Regions from separate parts of the Homo sapiens genome. Here region 2 is linked to region 1. Evidence: promoter capture Hi-C in human tissues and cell types (Jung and others, 2019). All regions are on one chromosome and are shown on one strand. Each heading gives the region's core, a stretch centred on a gene start or on the middle of the fragment in contact. The rest is flanking DNA. Distances are from core to core; before and after follow the strand shown.

Region 1 (6,946 bases), core at 3,297-5,796:
TTTTACCTCTTTGAGCTTCCATTTTCTTATATATGAGATGTGGGTCATTATACTTAGCTTATAGGATTATTAAGAGAAGTAAATAAAAAATAAAGAGTGACTATCAGAGCATCTAATATATAGCAAGCATTTGACATATGATAATAGCGCTTGGATAGATGTATAATTTTTATTTGATATTTGCTATCTTATTTAAAAATTGAAGCTTTTCTTAAGAAGGGTGGAGGAAATAATCGATAGGGGAGGAAAAGAAAAATCCCAGCCATTCCCAGCCAAAAGCTCTCCACCTCTCAGACTTCTCCACCTTTATTTTGTTTAATAATCAGGCACCTCCAACTTTCCCTGGAAGTTTCAGCCCATGAGTCCCCAGATGCTCCTCCCATGCCTGAGTTTGACAAACATTTATTCTTACTTAGTTCAACTAAGACAAATTAAGGAAAGGAAAGAAGGATTCTATCTGTGCCTAGGAAGTTATGTCAGTTAAAGAATCTGACACACAGAATCCTCTCAAGGGGCTTCCCTTAAAAGAAAAGAACTAAGAGCATGGCACTGTCCCACGACATTGGCTGGGCTTCTGTCTCCTAGTTCATTGTTCTTTGATGTCCTAGAGAGTGATTTCTGTTTTTGTCTTCAGGGCTGCTTCTTCCTAACTCTTCTTTCATTTGCGTTTTTCCTTTAATGGCAAGGGTAAGGACTTTAGTGCTGCCAGTTTAAAAAAAATTATAAAATCAAAATTCAGTAAATAAAGCTGAATTTCATGGAACAGCAAAAAAGAAAAAGAAATCTGACTGGAGCCAGGAAAATTCCTCAAAGAGACAAAATGCCTAGCCATCTGAAAAAGAGTTAGTTAAAGGATAAGCAAGGACAGAAAGAGAAGGAGGTAGAATTGATAGGGAAATATATTACACTTTCTACCTCTATGCCATTATTTTAGTCACAGAAATACCATGTGAAAGGGATAACTCTTTTGGTATATTCTCTGGCAAATATACTTTTCTGAGAAGCTTCTCCCCACAGTAATTCTCAGAAGCTCTGCCAATGTTCCTCTCCTGCATTCCCTCCCTAAATTCAGAATTATCTGAGCTGGTCACTAGCACCTTTCTTGATGCTTTGGAAACAGAGATGCTCCTGAGTGCCCATAAGAATGGTCAGCCCAGTGAGAAAGCTCATCACTTGGTCTCCTTTAAGGCCAGTTGGCTGCCTAACAATTTTTTAAATAAGAGGAGCCACTATTAAATTTTTGTTCAAAGAGCACACTTGATGCATGAGGACAGGGCCCATATCTGTATTTTTCTCTACTGTATTTCCAGCCTAGAGTTGACAAACAGTAGATGCTCAGTACATTTGTTGGCTAGATAGATAACTTGATGGATGGCTGGCTGGCTGGCTGGCTGGATGGATGGATGGATGGATGGGAGAATTATGAAATCATGAAGCTCCTTCTGGCCCTGACAGGCATGGTCATTCTTCTCTTTTCTGCCTGAGAGTAGGTGGAATAGGAGATCTGTATTACTCCATGGCTTCTCTTGCTTCAGTTCCTACGTTGCCAACCTCACATGAGGAGAATCCTACACATGTTTAAAAACTGGCAATCATATCACTGTCTCATATTTCTGTTATCACTTCTGGGAGTTTCTTCAAATATTCTCTCCTCTGAATAACACTTCTTTTTTGTTAAGGGAAAATGTCTATATAAGTGTCTTTCATAATTATCTAAAATCTAATTAGAATTTAGAGTTTCATGTGGTCTCGTCTTGACAAGATATCCCAATTAAGAAAATGCAAACTAGCTGGCAAAATTAATTTGTTCAAATTTCAATATTTTCTGAAAATTTTCAGACAGTATTCTGCAATCTCAAACAATGCTATTCCTAACCAAAGCAACTTTTATTTCTCTGTTCCCATGTCTCGCTTTTAATATGTCTCACCTTCTACAACTGCCTCCGTTTTTCTCTGTCACTCAGTCTCTACCTAAAACTCACCCAGCAAACCAAATTGGTAAGGCTCTTCTCATTTCCCCTTCTCCGTTTTTTTTTTTTTCCTACTTCCATTCTTTTCTTCTGTCTTCTCTCAGATGAGTCAATCTTGGTCCTTTCTAATGCAAAGCTCCCATCCCTGCTTCATGCGTTAGTCCAAGTCCTCATCATAAAAACATATGACTGGAGTTGGCATTCACAAAGTTGTCTTTGAAATGGGGAGTAAGGTGACAGAGGAGAAAAAGAAGAGCTCTGGATTCTCAGACATGTTAATAATTTTTACATATCATATATAAATGGGATTTTGCAGAGAAGAACCAGAAATAGATGGGAGAGCAATGGACAGGAAAGGCAGATGAGGGACCGAAGAGACACAGCTCCCAAAAGAAAGTTAGCCTTACAAAAACCAAGACGATAAAGAGAAATGCTTAAGTTTAGGGAATCCAGTGGAAGCAGTGATTTAAGGTGAACAAAAGGTGAACCTTAAGTTGAAATGAGAAGTGTAGGATTTTCAAGTTTAGTTTCTGGGAGTGTAAAAATAAAAAAACAATTGTGATGTCAGAGGTTGAAAGATTATAGTTGTCATTTGAACTTGGGGATAAAGGAGACATCTATGACTTGGCTGGAAAAGACAGAGCTAATGTACATTGCAAAGCACATATTTATAGCAGGAAAATGGGAAGATTTCTCTTTAATTCTGGAGATGGAGTGGGGATGGGGAGAGTAGACTACTCATTTTAAGGGTGAAACATTGGAATTCAACTTGTTTGATGTTATATTAATTGGTGGTTAATTACTAAGCTAAGTACGTATAAAACTTTTATCTATGGCTAGCTTGTCCCCCCAAAGTCATGCAATATAGTGAACTGGCTTTCGCACTTTAAATTATTCATTGATCATGTAATGATTCAGATGATTCATCTTCCAAGATGGACACTGAAACTAACACTCATAGTAGGTTGTGGTTTAAAGAGTGGAACAACCGCCAGTCTCATTAGTGGAAATTGTGATGGTTGAATTTATCAAGGATGAACATACACGGTCTTCTTTCTGAGATTTTCTTTAAGATTTTCGCACAGATAATCTATTTCTTAGGTTTTGGAGAGAAAACTTGAATTTTATTGATCCCTCAGAACTCAATCTTTCAGATTTCAAAGGAGCTATTTCTTTTAATGGGGACTCTGTTAATATTTATAAAAGCTCTTCACAGGATGGAGGGTGGGAGGGAAACTCCATCCCAACAAGACAAAAAGAATGAAGCATGAGGCTCCACCTAGTTCATCACTGCTCCTTGAAATACATCAGTATTGAAAGACACATCCACCCCACCCCCAACCCAGCCCTATTGCTGTTCCAGCTCAAGAGTCAGAGGTCCCGAAGCTGTAGCTCTTCTACAATCTGCTGCTCTGTGACTTCAAGTCTGTTGTCTGCAAAGAAAACTATTGGGTTCCCAAGCAAGAGAGGCACATCTGGTAGGACAGATTTTGTGATTGCAAAAGAAGGGGGAAAAAAAGAAAGAAAGAAAAGACCTCTCTATACAAGATAACCAGAGGCATCAAACTGAAATCCTCCTGTGGAAAATAAGCTAGTACTTCTGGGCCTGATGGTGTAGTGAAAACCTGTGCTTGAGGATACATTACAGTGAAAGAGCAAAGTGAATAGTAAGTAGCTATTACTTACCTCCTTAGGGAGGTGTGTTGTTTGTCTGTACATCCCCCACAGCACCTAGCACAGTACCTTGCATCTCACCTGCCACTCACTAAAAAGTCTATCAAGTTAGTTAATTATCGAGACAACGCCCTCAGAAATGAGAGAACAGTACCCTCTTATCCTTGCTGCACTTTCCAGCACTGATACGCTGCCTAAAAGAGGACTAGGGCACAGGTTTGAATTAATGTCACAAAACTGGATGGGCAAGTTACAACGGTGTTGATTAAGGAAACAGAACTCATGGTGCACCGGATATCTCCATCCTGATGAACCCTTGGAAAAATGCCAAAGATGCATATCCCCAGGCAAATGCCTGATTAGTCTGGGATTGATAGATTGGTCTAGGATTCAGCCCTACTGGGAAGATGTCTAAATTATAATCAGTGTAGAAAGCGAAGTTCTCCTAGAAGAAGAGGCAAAGGTTAAAAAGAAGAAAAGAAAAGAAAGTGAAGTCCTTTCTCCCCCAAAACCTCTCATCAATCAATCAGGGTAACAAACAGAACACTAGGGCTCTGTCTGTGGACCAAACCCAAAAGCCCTGCGGTCAGGGCCAGGAGGGTAGATCATGTGTTTGTGGCAACTTCCTCTGTGGGCTTTTGCCCAGGTCTGTCCCCAAGCATACGATGGCCAAAACTTCTGCACCAGAGCAGCATCCTGTGTAACACAGTCAGGTCCAGCAGTTAGGGAAAACTGCCCACTCAGAGTAGATAATATCTGGAAGGAATGACTGTTTGGGAAAAGTTCCAATGCTAGTTCAGTGCCAACCCTTCCCCACCTTCTCCAGCTCTCTCCCACTGGTTCCTCCCCTCTCAACTGCTCTGGTTCTTATAAAAACCTCACAGCCTTCCACTAACATCCCGTAGGAGCCTCTCTCCCTACTGCTGCTACACAAGACCCTGAGACTGACCTGCAGGACGAAACCATGAAGAGCCTGATCCTTCTTGCCATCCTGGCCGCCTTAGCGGTAGTAACTTTGTGTTATGGTGAGAAACTTTTCTCCCATTTCTCTGTGTTTACTTTTCTGCCTCTGACTTTGGCTTACTTCTATTTTTCCTCTCCCTCCTCCTCTTCTTCCCCCTTTCTCTGTTATAATCTTAAAGTACCATTACTTTCACATTTCCCAGTCTCCGCAGAAACTGATCTGTTCTATTAAGTCTTTTTTATATCCTAAATATCCAGAGTCTTATGCAACTTAACAGGCAAACCCGTTCAGTGGTAAGTCTCTGTATATCTAGAAACTCATATTTCAGAAAGAAGATACCAAATTCCCAGCCCCCTGCATCCTCATTTTTAAGGATATTTATTTAGACTTTGGTATCAATGGGTTAAGGGTATTGTTTAAACCACTTGCCTTTGAGAAAATCCATTTTTATGTGAAGTATTAAGTATAGCCCTTTCTAGGGACTGGACAATCTCATGAACTTACTATGTTTGTTCAGTTAATTAATTTTAAAATAAAGTTTTACATCAAAAGAATTTTAGAAAAGAATCATTTTCATAACTCCTGTTGTCAGAAAATAAATTTTGCCTGTTTTCTATATGTCATTAAATATACCTGCATTTGTTCAAAGCTTATAAAAGGAAATCTGAAGCAAAGTTATTTACTTATTTCAGTCTTTTGTTTCAATTACCTAGATATTTTCATTGTTTTAAAATTTAAATTACATTAACAACCATAAAGATTATGCTTCTCACTCTTGTATTCACAAATTTTCTGTATTAGAGGATTTGATTTCTTCACCTCCTTTTTAAGTTTTGAAGAAAATTCACTTGCTGGCAAATATTAATAGAAGCTTCTTATTCCAAAATTTATCTGCTGTGCTCAGGAGAGTGGCAGAAAGAAGAAAACTTCGGCTTTGATATCGTTTCAGTTCTCTCTCTGAACTGGCATCGTGCCCAGGGTGAGCTGTCAGCTGGAGCTAGTGGTTTCTGTGGCTGCCAATTTAACACAGGTTCTTAAGAGGCTTTCGGAACCCTCTTAGAAACCTGCCCTAGTAAGCCCAGCAGAGCAACTGCCCTGTAGTTCTCTTGCCTGGAGAAACCTGGCTGTCTTCTGGATCCTTCTTAATCCTCTTTGACCCTGTTCTCAAACAGGCTCTGAATAAATCAGAGAAGAAGGTTCTCTGGAGACTTCTGTACAGCACTTAAAGTGTCTTATTTTGCTTGTCTGAAGACGTCATAGCCCTTGGGAAATTTTAGCTGAAAATGGCCACTCCCTCCTTCAACATCAGAGAAACTAAAATATAGAGATATCCACAGCAAGGCCAGAGCTAGAGAAAAACCTCATAAATCCTAAATTCCTGAAATTTCTAATAACCACACTGCTAAATATATTCTTCATGTTTTTAGACTCTTTCCTCTTCTTCCATCCCTGTATTTAAACTATCACAGTGTCTAAATTGATAAATAATAACATAATGAATCATGGATAAATATTGATATAATGAATCTTTTTTTTTTAATTTCAGAATCACATGAAAGCATGGAATCTTATGAACTTAGTAAGTGAATATTTAACTTCTTTATTCAAATCCCTTGCATTAAAGAACCTCTTCTTATTTTTAAATAAACAAGATGGAAAGATATATAACAGGGAGGGAAAAGGGGGCCTCTTTTGGAAAACTAAAGTAAATTTTTAAATCTAATGACTATAAAAATTGCCAAAGGAGCAATTTTTTAAGTTTGAAGTAGTGCAATATGGGATTTAAGCTACAGGCGACATATTTAGAAGCCATAAAATCTCATTTGGAAATTTTAAATTGGCACCACGTCAACTGCACAGATGGAAAACGAGGAGTAATGACAAATGGTAAAGCACAGAGCTGGACGCCAAGTCAGCTGGGAGACCACAGGCGCCACGTTAAGCTGAGTGCTGTTTTGGTTTTTTTGTGTTTTTCTTTCTTGTTTTTTTTTTTGAGACAGTGTCTCACTCTGTCGCCCAGGCTAGAGTGCAGTGGTGTGATCTCGGCTCGCCGCAACCTCCACCTCCCAGGTTCAGGCAATTCTCATGCCTCAGCCTCCTGAGTAGCTGGGATTACAGGCCCATGACATCATGCCTGGCTAATTTTTGTATTTTTAGTAGAGATGGGGTTTCACCATGTTGTCCAGGCTGGTCTCGAACTCCTGGCCTCAAGTGATCCACCCACCACAGCCTCCCAAAGTGCCGGGATTACAGGCATGAGCCACCACACCCAGCCAGCTGATTGCTGTTGAATAGCTGGATTTATAAAGACTGAGCATAGGAGGAAATGGCACATCAC
Region 2 (6,946 bases), core at 1,663-4,162, 72 kb after region 1:
AAGAAAAAACGATAAATTGGCCGGGCATGGTGGCTCATATATTCTTAGATTTATATTTAAGTATTTTATTTTAGTGTAATCCCAACACTTTGGGAGACTGAGGTAGGCAGATCACTTAAGGCCAGGAGTTGGAGACCAGCCTGCCCAACATGGCAAAACCCCGTCTCTACTAAAAAATACAAAAATTAGCTGGGTGTGGCACACGCCTGTAATCCCAGCTACTCGGGAGGCTGAGGGAGGAGAATTGCTTGAACCTGGGAGGCGGAGGATGCAGTGAGCCAAGATGGCACCACTGCACTCCAGCCTGGGTGACAGAGTGAGACTCTGTCTCAAAAAAAAAAAAAAAAGAGAAAATATAAAGACCTGATCAGCAATTTCAAATGCTGCAAGTATGATAAACACTGTAAATTATTTCTTATGTTTAGTCATTACAATGTCATTGACAATGCTAGAAAAGCAATTTTGCAAGAGGCAGGAATATGTACAGAAGCTAGATTATAAATACTGGAAAATTAATGGAGAAAATGAAGTAGAGGCAATGCATGTACACTACCAAACTGGGAAGTCTAACTGTGAAGAAGAAAGATAAAGGAGGCTATTGGGTCAAAAAGGTGATTATTTTTAGGTTTGCTTGATTTTTTTTTAAGTGCAGCATTCATAAGTGCTGGCAAATTGTTGAAACAATCGTAATTGAATCGGGCAGTTTATTCAGGGTCATGTAATATATGGTTTTTGAGCAGAGATTTTAGGAAAAGAAGGGGATGAGCTTTAGGATAAAAGGGAAAATAAAGCATTCTAAATAAAAGACGATCAAGTGAGAGCTACATGCAGATAAGTTTGGAGATATTATTGCTTTCACTCTCATTTCCCACCACTGTCAATCCAGCAGTGAAACTTGTCAAATCAGCCTTCCTGATTCCCTAAAACCACCCTGACTCCAAGATCTACACTAAGAAAATGTGCCTCCTTCCTAAGGTTCAGTTCTGACTATTGACTTGACGTTAATACTGGCTTTAGTAGTCAAGAAAGATTTAAGAAGTTCAAGTTTTCAACCTGAGAAACTGATTGCAGAAAAAAGAAGTTCAAGTTGATTAGGGGGCTCAGTATGAAGTCAATATTGCTTCTAGTTTTTCTCTGATAATTATTTTGCATTGTTACTGTTTATCCTTAATTTTGGCAACTCCACTTAGGCTGCTATGTGGTAGGAGAGAAAGGAGTGGATGAGTAGGCAATAAATGTTAAGAAGGGTAGAAATAGGAGAGAAACAAACACCTTAGGAACAAGTGGGTTAAATGGTACTCTTCAACAATAGCCTCTTCGGAAACAAAATGCAACTGTTTTAAGACAGGGTAAAAGACAGACATATTTTGTCCACATACTGTAGGCAATGGGGTTGGTAACTTATGCTTTATTGTCCATACCTACTAATCAAGTTTACATAATGTACCCTTCCTGAAATCCAAATCTCCAAATATTACACCATAATTAAAAGGATTTTTTAATGGTTCATTATTATCTACAGAATGAAATACAATTTCCTAGCATGACATCTAAGGCTATCTACAAACTATTTTCAATTTTCCATGACTTACCTTCCCTTAACTGCTCCCACTTACACCCTGTATCACCAGCAGGTTGGTTTTTGTTCCCTGAAAATGTTCTACAATTTTTGGTTCAGCTCCTTTGCTCTCAGTGTTCCCTCTATCTGTATTATTTCCTCTATACCACCATCCTCCCCAAACATCTATTAAAATCCTACTTAACATCCATACCTAGTTCAGATACACTGGCCACACATCCGTACGTGGTGGGGCCCTGGATACATCAAGGGCAAGATGATCCACTGGGACAAAAGTAGAAAAGTGACCCCACTTAGCCCTTCTTTAGAATCACAGGGCAGCATCTTTAGATTTTAAAGTTTCCTGTCTGCCTGTCTGGCATTTTGATTCTGTATCCTGTACCCACCCATTCTCCTCTCCCCTCCACCAGGAGATACTGTTGTTAATATATGAATAGCTACCGTTTCATAAGATTTTGCCACATATCAGCCACTATGCCAATTACTTTATAAACACTATCCCATTTAATCCATAAATTATTAACTAATACTCATATTACACCAATGGGAAAACTCAGGCTAAGTGACTTTCTTAGGATTACATGACTAGTAAGTGGTACTTGGAGTACACAAAACCAGGACTGTCTGAGTGTAAAGCCTGCTGTCTTTCACTAAGTTACACTGGGGCTGAGTGATTTCCCTGCCACTCAGGTGTCTTTGCTGTGGAGGAATTAACGGGTCTGAAGACTGAAGCTGGGAAGAAGCAGCAGGGAAGACTGATCTGAGCTTTCAGGGAAAAGAGTGAAGTTGGACTTTAAGGTTTTTATATTGTCAAGACAATTTACAAACACAGGAAGAGAAAGAATGACAAAGAGGAGAACTCCTAGCTGGAAAGAAGAGAAAAAAAAATTGGATGCAAGTAACTGCATTTATATATCTTGAGAATTTAAATAATCAGCAACAGTTAGAGGTGCAAATGCAACAGAAGCTAAAAGAAACTTAGTATCTGGAATAGTTGACAAGATAAAACCCCAAAATCTGAGAGCTGCAATCAAAGAGCCATCTTCTCTACTAAATTGAATTAGCTCAGTTATATAGCGCTTCTCAACAATAAAAAGTCCATTAAAGAACAGAAATTTAAAAATAAGTTTTACACACTATTAGTCTTCCAGTTTATATAACTTAATACTGTATACTAAGTTTTTATTAATAGGAAATGAAGGAATTCTGAGGGCCAAGCCATGTAGAAATAGCCTATAAACCAGACAGGCAGAGGGACCCAGCAGAGACTAGCAAAGTCTGTAAGTCATCACATTCCATCAGAAATATCCAGATGAAACCAGATGAAAAAGCACTTTAACAATACTCCTAAACAACTGCTAGGACCACGGAACTCAGAAACACAGCAAGGTAAGCAACGTGGATATTTCTATTAGTATTGATATAATACTCTGTTTCTCAGTAGTAGGAGGAATTTGAATTAGCCCGTCAGTCTTGAATCCTAACCATAAATAAAATAAAGTAAAAAAACAGCTTTGTTATAAGAGGATCCCATGACATGTTCCTTGTGATTTGGAAGGAACCTTTCCTGGTGCCTTCTCTGAAGACAGCAGAGAAGGAAGAAAATTAACAATTTCTAGGACTGATTAAGTCAGAGTGGAAGAGAAGCAGTAAAGACATCAATTCTAAGAAGGATTAAGGATGAAATGATACCTGTGTGAATGTGTGAAGTTTACATGGATAGTAACATTTCCTTCTATGTCATTAATATTAATATAGGCACTCAGTACCTATCTATGAAAGAATGAATGTGGAATCTAATACTGGTTAATGTATAGTACTTATACTCCTTCATAAATTATGTTGTATCTAAATATCTCTGAGCATTTGCTGTGTGTCTCCAAACAGGCTGTTATCGTCTTGAGGGCAAGGAACATTGTCGTTTTCAAATGCCTCAAGGGACACAGTAGAGGCTTCACCAGTGAGCACTTGATAAATGCTGATGAATGACTTTAATATTCTTCTTTCTGGTCAGAAACATTTTTTAAATGAATTTATATCAGAAAGTATATCATCACATCATGATCAATTTTTGTTTTAATTAAAGGCCACAGATTTTTATTTGAATTAAAGGAGACTCAGAACTAGTTAGAAGCTGTTATTTTCTTCTGAAAAGCTCCTGATTTTACCTATACCCTATTTCCACACTCCCAGATAAGGAAACTGTGCATGATGGCAAAACCCTGTTTGGACAGTGAAGAAAAGTGACAGCAAGAAGAAATGTAAAACCTCAGAGAGCACTAACGACTAAACATCAGAGGTTTAGACAGGGTCACGTTTTTCTTTTTCTTTCTTTTTTATTTGTTATAAGAAAAGTTCAAACATACACAGAAGTAGAGACAATAATATAATAAACTCCCATGTACCCATAACTCAGCTTTAAAAATTATCAAAACAAGGCCAATCTTTTTTCCTCTATAACCCTACCCCACTATTCTTTCCAGATTATTTGTGAACAAATCTCTGAGACCATTTCATTTCATCTTAAATGTTTTCAGTATGTATTTCCAAATAGGCAAGAACTTCTCTTTTTGAAATTTAACCTTACTCTTCCCAAATCAACAATATTTAAACAGGACCATCTTTGACTGGGAAATATACCAGCACTATGCTCAGTATCTGGGTGACAGGATCATTCACAGTAAACCTCAGCAACACACAGTATAGTCAGGGAACAAACCTGTGTATGTACCTCCTGAATCTAAAATAAAAATTGTAAAAATTTTATAGCAGGATACCCAGTATCCTGCTATAAAAATTTATTTGGGGTAGCACAGTAAAAGCTTTTGGAATGCAATTTACGATACATATCAAAAGTAATAAAAATTTAATTCCCATTACTTATGCCACTAATTATGTAATTCTTCTAGGTACTTATGCTGAGGAAATAATCCAGATAATGGAGGAAAAAAAATCTGTGGGTATCAAAATGCTCATTAGAATATTAGTGATAGTGAAACAATTTTAGATTTATTGAACCAGGGTAAAGACAGGGAATAGTATACGTAACCAATAAAATTTTTTTTTTTTTTGAGACGGAGTCTCCCTCTGTCACCCAGGCCGGCGTGCAGTGGCACAATCTCGGCTCACTGCAAGCTCTGCCTCCCAGGCTCATGCCATTCTCCTGCCTCAGCCTCCCAAGTAGCTGGGACTACAGGCGCCCGCCACCGCGCCCGGCTAATTTTTTGTATTTTTAGTAGAGACGGGGTTTCACCGTGTTAGCCAGGATGGTTTCGATCTCCTGACCTCGTGATCCGCCCGCCTCGGCCTCCCAAAGTGCTCGGATTACAGGCGTGAGCCACCACGCCCGGCCAAATATTTTTAAAGCTATAAATAGGGGAAAGTGTTAAGTGAATAAAAGATGAATTTTATTTATACTATTATGATAACTTTGTGAAGATACTTATGCATATAAACAAATTTTGAAAAAGAATAACAAAAATCAAAAGTGAAATGGTAGGTTTATGGGTGTTTTTCCTCCTCTATTTAAAAAAGTGTATATGTTACTGGTAATAAGTATATATTTAAAAATCGTTTTACCAAACCGTTCACTTTTAATTTCTCCATAATGTACCATCTATCAAAGTATAAATCATATATTGCATTCTCCATGAAGCTTTCTCTAATCACCTTGATATTAATTTCTAAGTTCAACAGCACTTGACAGTCAACGCACTACTGTTATTCACGAAAGTACCCTGAAGAGTTGTATTTGAACATATGATGATCAGTACATTTTCATTTTGTAAGGTAGTTCCTTTTCTGAAAAACTAAAACAACTGTATGATGTCATTAAATAAAACTTAACTTTTAGACACAATTATCAGCATATTTCTACCATATCTTAGATGCCCTTTAATCTTAAATGTTGACTTCTCAATTCAAAAAAATTAACAAGGTTAGGTGCAGTAAGCATCCATCTCAAGCTAACCTTTGTCTCCATTTTCATTTCTTAAGGTGTGCTGACCAATGACATCAGCACTTTCAGATGTTTTTTGTCATTTTTTAATAAAATAACAAGTCAAAAATTTCCAAACTTTGTTTTAGCAACAGAACTCTCTCATCAAATAAAATTTTACCTACCCAGAGCCCAAATGTGTAGAGCAAGAGAAAGCACAGCTGCTCCAGTCCAGCAAAGGCCCAGGTGAAAAATGGGAGACCCAGAGACCAAGAGCTCCACCTGCTGTCTAGCAATTCCCAATGGGCTGCTCCAGGGCACTACAGAACCCATTTCATGGATAACTACAAGAAAATATTCAAATAATAGCACAAACTCTGTACAAAAGTGGATGGTAATTCCCCAAGTGGAACTTTTCACCAACAGGAAGCACCATCATGTGACAATTCAAATTATGTAAAAGTTCAAACTTACCATACAATAGGTGTAGTTAATTAGAGCTGGATTAAATATACCACTTGCTGTTGGTGCTACAATCTTTGAAAGTGACAGGTCATCAATGAAAATGGAATAAGATGGAGAAAGTATATGGCTCAGAACTCCTCTCGGGCACAATATTATGGGTTGTTTGTAAAATATCACTTGAAGCTTGCCTGAGTAACAACTACGATCTTTAAGAAGGGTGACTCCAAATAATTGCAGGGCTTTTGTTTTGCTGAGTGGAGTAATCACTTTGGGAGTCAGAACTAAATTGTTAAGGGCAATAGCGAAAATACTGCACACTGCCAACTATGGTTCTCCATGTGGTGCCCAGCCTCTCCTCAACTGTCAAGCACATATCTAAGAATACTTGAAAGGTTACAAATTGTTAACCTTACTAGATGACTAAATGTCTCCACATGGCCACAGTGCCAATATATTATATATTAAAGTGTGGGTTGTTTAAAACAAATTTGCACAAGTCAAATACCAAGTGTACCTTTAATTTTGTACGACATATTACTTTCAACTTGATATTACAGTTATAAATCTGTCTTAACTTCCTAACTAGATTAGAAATTCCAAAAAAGCAAGGACCATGTCTTTTTCATCTTTGTATGCTTTGCAGAGTGGTGCTGGCATATGACCTTACACGTGGTAAGTACTAACCTATTAGATGAATTGTTAATGAATCAATAATTGCCTTCTTCGCTAAGCTCTTCAAACTTCACCTGTCCAAAACACAATTCAATGGTTTCACTTTCAATCCCCACCTCTCCTCTTCCTAATTCCCCAGTGCTTCTTATCTCATTTGGGGTGTAGAAATAACCTTGAGCTGTATTCAGAACTGGAGCTCAGACATACCTAAGCAGGTATGGTGGCAGGCCTGCTGAAGATATGTTAGCACAAGAAAACCCTCCCCACTCCCCACCCAAGGAAAAAAGCTAGGA

Evidence for each region. The method cuts DNA at HindIII sites, captures the fragments that hold promoters and counts their contacts. A contact is called where the count stands out against the background at its distance.
Region 2: a contact is called between the fragment with the promoter of SMCO3 here and the fragment with the promoter of MGP in region 1, in 1 of the 25 tissues and cell types used here (adrenal gland).

What each region holds. Positions count from the first base shown.
Region 1 is chr12:14,883,454-14,890,399 of GRCh38, reverse strand. It overlaps MGP (matrix Gla protein), which reads left to right and starts at 4,546. Exons shown (of 4, transcript NM_000900.5): 1 at 4,546-4,669; 2 at 6,155-6,187. The coding sequence starts at 4,609. The HindIII fragment of the contact is 8,639 bases long and covers 606-6,946 here.
Region 2 is chr12:14,810,148-14,817,093 of GRCh38, reverse strand. SMCO3 (single-pass membrane protein with coiled-coil domains 3) reads left to right here and starts at 2,912. Exons shown (of 2, transcript NM_001013698.2): 1 at 2,912-2,968. The region is part of intron 1 of C12orf60 (chromosome 12 open reading frame 60); the gene reads right to left. The HindIII fragment of the contact is 14,769 bases long and covers 1-4,818 here.